2 separate regions of the Homo sapiens genome follow, and region 1 is linked to region 2. The links are contacts of gene promoters, found by promoter capture Hi-C in blood cells and fetal thymus (Javierre and others, 2016). All regions are on one chromosome and are shown on one strand. The core of a region is centred on a gene start or on the middle of the fragment in contact, and the rest is flanking DNA. Distances in the headings are between cores, read along the strand shown. Region 1 overlaps ZNF649 (zinc finger protein 649). Region 2 holds the start of ZNF614 (zinc finger protein 614).

Evidence for each region. The method cuts DNA at HindIII sites, captures the fragments that hold promoters and counts their contacts. A CHiCAGO score of 5 or more calls a contact.
Region 1: a fragment that was not itself captured here is called in contact with the fragment with the promoter of ZNF614 in region 2 in 1 of 17 cell types (fetal thymus); the score reaches 5.8 in fetal thymus.

The regions. Positions count from the first base shown.
Region 1 is chr19:51,888,221-51,891,815 of GRCh38, reverse strand. It overlaps ZNF649 (zinc finger protein 649), which reads left to right. Exons shown (of 5, transcript NM_023074.4): 5 at 1-2,581. The coding sequence ends at 1,198. The region is part of intron 1 of ZNF649-AS1 (ZNF649 antisense RNA 1); the gene reads right to left. Among named protein-coding and RNA genes, the nearest start is that of ZNF649-AS1, 2.0 kb to the right of the region's middle. The HindIII fragment of the contact is 2,278 bases long and covers 995-3,272 here.
Region 2 is chr19:52,026,433-52,029,957 of GRCh38, reverse strand. ZNF614 (zinc finger protein 614) reads left to right here and starts at 1,579. Exons shown (of 5, transcript NM_025040.4): 1 at 1,579-1,716. LOC112268244 (a long non-coding RNA gene) reads right to left here. Exons shown (of 2, transcript XR_002958414.2): 1 at 3,420-3,525; 2 at 178-2,846. RefSeq lists enhancers at 1,092-1,851, 2,322-3,092. The HindIII fragment of the contact is 7,426 bases long and covers 1-3,525 here.

The sequences.
Region 1 (3,595 bases), core at 884-3,383, 140 kb after region 2:
CGGAAGAACTTTGAAATCATATTTAGGTTTAACCAACCAGAGCAGAAGATACAACAGAAAGGAGCCTGCTGAGTTTAATGGAGATGGAGCTTTTCTCCATGATAATCATGAACAAATGCCTACGGAAATTGAATTCCCTGAAAGTAGAAAACCCATCAGCACCAAGTCACAATTCCTTAAACATCAGCAAACACACAACATAGAGAAAGCCCATGAATGCACTGACTGTGGGAAAGCTTTCCTCAAGAAGTCTCAGCTCACTGAGCATAAGAGAATTCATACAGGAAAGAAACCCCACGTGTGTAGCTTGTGTGGGAAAGCCTTCTACAAGAAGTACAGGCTCACTGAACACGAGAGAGCTCACAGAGGAGAGAAACCCCACGGGTGTAGCTTGTGTGGGAAAGCCTTCTACAAGAGGTACAGGCTCACTGAACACGAGAGAGCTCACAAAGGAGAGAAACCATACGGGTGCAGTGAATGTGGGAAAGCCTTCCCCAGGAAATCTGAGCTTACTGAACATCAAAGGATTCACACGGGAATTAAGCCCCATCAATGCAGCGAATGTGGGAGAGCTTTCTCCAGAAAATCACTACTCGTTGTACATCAGCGAACTCATACAGGAGAGAAGCCTCATACATGCAGTGAATGTGGAAAAGGCTTCATTCAGAAGGGCAATCTCAACATACATCAACGAACTCACACTGGAGAGAAACCTTATGGATGCATTGACTGTGGCAAGGCCTTCAGCCAGAAGTCTTGCCTTGTAGCACATCAGAGATATCATACAGGAAAGACTCCCTTTGTATGTCCTGAATGTGGGCAACCCTGTTCACAGAAGTCAGGACTCATTAGACATCAGAAAATTCACTCAGGAGAGAAACCCTATAAATGCAGTGACTGTGGGAAAGCCTTCCTTACAAAGACAATGCTCATTGTACATCACAGAACTCACACGGGAGAGAGACCCTATGGCTGTGATGAGTGTGAGAAAGCTTACTTCTATATGTCTTGCCTTGTTAAACATAAGAGAATACACTCAAGGGAGAAACGGGGGGATTCAGTGAAGGTGGAAAATCCTTCCACAGCAAGTCACAGCTTAAGTCCTAGTGAACATGTGCAGGGGAAAAGCCCTGTTAATATGGTAACTGTGGCAATGGTGGCAGGGCAGTGTGAGTTTGCCCACATCCTGCATTCATGATAAACAGTTTGCTGTTTGATCATATAGCCTCCAGCGGAATGCTGAGTTTGTCATGTCCCATGGGCCTTTGGCTCCCTGCACTAATATGTATAGTAGGGTTTACAAGATATGAAATATATTTTACTTTTTTATATCTTATAAACCTCACTACCCCTCCCACAATATTGTTTTTCATTTACTATCTTGATCATAGAGTTTGGCTGGGGAGGGGGGCAGTTTTAGAGGCTTCCACTTGGTGTTCCTCAGAATGATATCTCTTACTCCGGGGGCCAAGGTAGGGGTTAGCTTTTGTTCTCTTTGTAGTTTAGATTGTATCTCTTGCCTTGTTCAAGTTCACAAATCTTTTTGTGTATACACATATGTACATGAAAATGATGTTCATGCTTTTTATTATTTTACCCTTCATTATTTCATTTTTTATAGTTCTCATAGCTATGTCTTTCAGTTCACTAATCTTTTTTCCACAGTGTTTAATCTGTCATTAATCCCATCCAAAGTATGTTTTCTCTCAGAAATTGTAATTTTTAACCTCTAATAATTTGACATGGGTTTTTCCCTGTTATATCTTTCATATCTTTATTTATCATGGTTTTACTTTTAACCTATTTATGCTTTCATATTTAAAGTGGGTGTTTAGTGGGCAACATACAGTTGGGCCTTCCTTTTTTATCCAGTTAACAATCTCTGTCTTTTTACTGGGGTATTTAGATCATTTACGTTCAATGTATTGATGTTTTTAGGTTTAAATTACTAACTTACTATTTGTTGTTTATTCTATGTCTTCTTTGTTCTCCTTTTCTTCTTTTTCTGCTTTCCCTTAGAGTAGCTGAGTGTGTTTATATTACATATTGTCTCCTTTGTTGGCTTATTAACTGTAAATCCTTGTCATTTGATTCCTTGAGATTTTATAGCATACATCATTGTGAGGGATTGCATATTTATGTCCTCTCCAAATTTACATGTTGAAGTCCTAATCCCTAAGGGATGGCATTAGGAAGTGTGACCTTTGGAAGGTAATTACATCTTGAAAGTGGAACCCTCATGATGAGATTATGTGTCTTATGAGACAACACAGAAGAGAGTTTGTTTTCTCTTTCTCTGCTCTTTGCCATGTGAAGACAGAATGAGATGACCATGCATAAACCAGGAAATGGACTCTCACTGGACACTAGACCTGCCAACACCTTGATTGTGTTTTAGAGTCCAGTTCTAGAGACTCCTCAGCCTCTGGAACGTGAGAAATGAATGTTTGTTAAGGCAGTCAGTCAGTCTATGGTGTATTTTTTCTAGTAGCCTGAACTGACTGAAAGAAAATCATGAACTTATCATTCTAACTTCAAGGACATTATATCACTTACTGTATAATAAAATAATCTTACAGTAGTATATCTCTATTTCCTGTGACCAGATCAGTGTCAGTGAAGAGATTGTCTTCTAGATGCTACTGGAATACATATTTGAGGTATGGGTAATCTTGATTTTACATGATAAATTCATTCTAGCATTCCAAACTCCATTTATCTTTGGGTACTTTATAATATATGAGGAAATTTCTGGCATTTAAACTTCATTTAGTGTAGGCAAATTTTGAGTCCAAGTTTCAGTCAACCAGCCAAGTCAACAGTTAGCACCACTCAATTTAGCTCACACACTGAAATTGCCAGTAGAATGTAATCTCCATGAATGAGAGTCTTTGTGCCTGAATTTCCAACTGTTGTATTCCCAGCACGCACAACAGTGTTTGACACATTAGGCATTTTATAAACATTCGCTGGATAAATGAGTGAATGATCAATCCCTTTAAAGGTTCTCTGAGGCTGGTTATAAAATTATAGGGAGCAGGTTTGGTGCTAGAATTCATCAGTTAATTGATCAGCTGAGTTTCAGTATTGAACAGAATCATCTCCCCTTCAGAGTTTTGATTTCAAGTTGCTCCCACCTTCCTGGATGTAAAGGCTTGTTCTGCCTTTGGCTTTTCCAGGGTGAGAGAGCCCTGTTTTCGTGTTGGTTCCCCACTTTGTCAACTGCTGATCAACTGTGTTCTCCATTCTCCACACCAATTATAACCAAAGCTTTAACACGCGGTTGTTTTATCCATTCTATGACTGACTCCTTCCTCTGAGGCTACATCTGATGTAGATGTAAAGATACTTCTTAGGCAGTTCTCAAAGGCTGCTTTCTCCAGCCAGATGCATCCTCAGGAGTAATAACCCCTCCGATTGTTGCTCAGGTCCCTCCCTCTTGAAATTCCTGTAAGACTGCCGCGCCACATGGTTTCTTTCCATTCTTCTTAGGATCAAAGTGCCTAAATGTCTGTGACCATCTCTACCCATCCTGTAGACAGATCAGGGCAGGCTTGAGCCTTTGAGAAACTAAGCAGTTTATGTAGCGCCCCTG
Region 2 (3,525 bases), core at 330-2,829:
ACATTCCAGATGAACGGGGCTGAAATTTAATCCTGGATGGAATATGTTATAACACTCAAGAAATACGAACATGAAATTCTTATTCTCTAGAAATTACAAAACGTAAGTAAAATGAAGAAATTTTAAGTCACCATAATTGTACGGAACAGTCAAATATTGTTAGTATATTCTCCAGAATTTTTCAAATGCATGAGCATATTTATTTTCTGAAAGAAAACAGCCTATTTTGCATTTATCATGCCATGAACTTATTATACATCATCATACCTATTTTCTAAGATCAACATGTTTTATAATATATTCATGATTATGGTACAAAGATAGTAAAATTAAGTATAAATTGGGAATATTTTTCAAGTAAAAACATGGCATTCTCTACCTATGAACACAAACAATATTAATTCAAACTAAATGTCTTGTTTAACCAATCACAATTTTCCAAAAGATGTTTATGATTTCTTCCAATAACAAGACCATAAAATATATACTATCCTGCAGATCATTTTTTTGTCCTCTGACAAAGTTTTCTTTTTTATAAAACAATTGTAGCATATTCTTTTAAATTGATATATACTCTTACAGTTCAGCAGATGTTCCATAATTTACCAAAGTATTCATCTCTCATTGTAATTCCCTTTTTTTGTAAATTACAAAAGTTGTGGTTAATATTAAGACAGATTTGCCTAGATAGCTTTTAGAATTGCTGTGTCAAAGAAAACGAAAAAATTAAATTGGCTCTAGGTTGCCTTCCAAAAATACAATATTTACTTAAATCTTCTACAGTTACAACGCCAACATCTGCAAAAATAGAACTAATATTTTTTAAGTGTGACTTTTTAAAAAATCTGGAAACATTGCAAAGTAGGATGATCGCATTCTAATAATTTCATATTCTTAAGTGCCCCACTGTCATCTTCCTTTACTTCTGGAAGGAAACATGTAGATATTAACACAGTTGCACCTTCACCTCCTCATCCCCTTCCCCACTGGCAGTGGTTTTAATAGCAAGCCCCATGTGGGTATTAGCATTTAATGGAGCATCACTCCTGTTCTCGGCTTCGTCCATTCAGTCAGAGTCTAATCTAACCCACAAAAGCCTTACCCAGCCCAGAACCCCCGCCCTATCCCCAAATCTAACACTTTCAGTGACCACTGGTTTTGGCAACTCTGTGACCGCTTCCTGGCCAGCACCGTGACTTCTTCAAACCTTGTTTATTTTTCCAAATTGTCCTGGATATGAGCATCTTCTCTGCCGTACGGCTGCTGCCTTCCTCTAAGATGGCCGTGCCCATGGTGCTCCAGCTAAGGCTCCACTCTCAGCTATAATGGGCACAAAGGGCGCCGCCATCTTTTTTCCACAGCAGGCTGAATAGAATGCCACTGCGCCGTGTTGGCCTTGGCTGGGCACCCGACTCTTGAGTGTCCCTTGCAACGAAGAGAGAAAGGCACTGAGGTGACTAAGAGTGATTCCCACAGCCATTATGGCCGCTCCTGTCAGAAACGCTGCGATGGGCGCAGCCCTGTGACCTCATAGAGCGGCGCCCGCAGTCTGAACTCGCGATCCCGGGCAGGCTCCGTGGTCCTCGCCTCGCTTCACGGTCTTTACCGCTCAGCTTCCCGGAGTCCGCGCAGGAGCGCGTCTGAATAGGAAGCGTTTTCGGACGTGGATGCGGCGTTTTGTCGCTGCCAGTGGTGTCTGGAGAGGTTCGGGCTCGGGTGAGTCGAGTTCTGGGCATGGACTCGCGGCCTGTGGGTCTGTGTACCGATGGTGCGTGGAGCGTCCTGATTGGGGCTGTATTTGAACGCAGTCGCTGAGGAAGCGGGGCGTTAATGACGGGTCCTTTGGCTGTAGGGATGAAGAGTCTGAGGAAATCAGCGACGAGTCCGACTCTGTCTGGGTCTGGGGCCCTTGTGAGTCACCCTTTACGGGTGTTGGGCTGGGGGACGGTCAGGTCTTTCCCTTCCCATGAGGCCCTATCTCAGGCTATCACATGGGATATTATCTTTCCTGAAGAATATAACATGTGCTCTTGAAAAAAATGTTTATTTTACTGCTGTTGAGTGCAGTGTTAAATGTTCGTTAAGTCTAGTTGGTTGATAATGTTGTTCAAGTTTTCGGTATCCTTGCTGAGTTTCTATTTGTTTTCTTTATTATTGCAAGTAGGGTAATGTAGTCTTCAATTATTATTGTTGAATTGTCTAATCCTCTCTCATTCTGTTTTGCTTCATACGTTTTTAAATTATCATATTCTTATATATACACCCTTATATTATTATTGCCAGCCATTGTAACCATTGTTGCCACTCACCTAGGCCTTGGTGTCCAGAGTTTTATTGGATATCAGTTAACACACACACACACAATTGACTGCCTATGAGGCTGACTTCAATCTCCAGCTCCTCCAGATATCAAACTAATACCACGTGGTCCAAGGTCTCCCACAGTAAATCACATTATTAGGATAGACAATTTGGCATGGCTTAAATTGCCCTGATAACCAAAGACAGTTTTATCAAGCAGCGTATTCCAAAGGCTTAGAGTTTGCCTCATAGGAACTGTGGGCAAAGGACAAAGCTCTCTTGGGTAAAGTTACTCCTTTAGCGCATAATGTGAAATGAGACAGTTCTTGTGATTTGCTTAGTACATTGGTCTTGACACGAGGTATGTATACCCAAAGAGCTTACAGAGACTTTCGAACCAGTACATGGGCACACGTGGTTTTTAAAGACATTCTTGGAGCCTTCCATGTGTTCTCTTTCCTAAAATTGATCTGTCTGAGAATTCACCTTGAAGGGGGCCACCCCTCCACAACCTGTGGGTGTTTCTTGTCAGGTGGGATGAGAGACTGAGAAAAGAAATAAGAGACAAAGTATAGAGAAAGAAAAGTGGGCCCAGGAGACCAGCACTCAGCATACGGAGGACCCACGCTGGCACTGGTCTCTGAGTTCCCTCAGTATTTATTGATCACTATCTCTACCACCTCGGAGAGGGGGATGTGGCAGGACAATAAGGTAATAGTGGGGAGAGGGTCAGCAGGAAAACATGTGAACAAAGGTCTCTGTGTCATAAATAAGTTTAAGGAAACGTGCTGTGCCTTGATGTGCACGCACACAAACATTTCGGTACAATAAAGAGCAGTATTGCCACCAGCATGTCTCACCTCCAGCCCTAAGGCGGTTTTCTCCTATCTCAGTAAATAGAACAGACAATGGGGTTTTACACGGAGACATTCCATTCCCAGGGACGAGGAGGAGACAGATGCCTTTCTCTTATCTCAACCGCAAAGAGGCCTTCCTCTTTTACTGATCCTCCTCAGCAGAGACCCTTTACAGGTGTCGGGGTAGGGGACGGTCAGGTCTTTCCCTTCCCACGAGGCCATATCTCAGGCTATCATATGGGGAGAAACCTTGGACAATACCTGGTTTTCCTAGGCAGAGGTCCCCGCGGCCTTCCGCAGTGTATTGTGTCTCTGGGTAGTTGAGATTAGAGAATGGTGATGACTTTTACCAAGCATACTGCCTTCA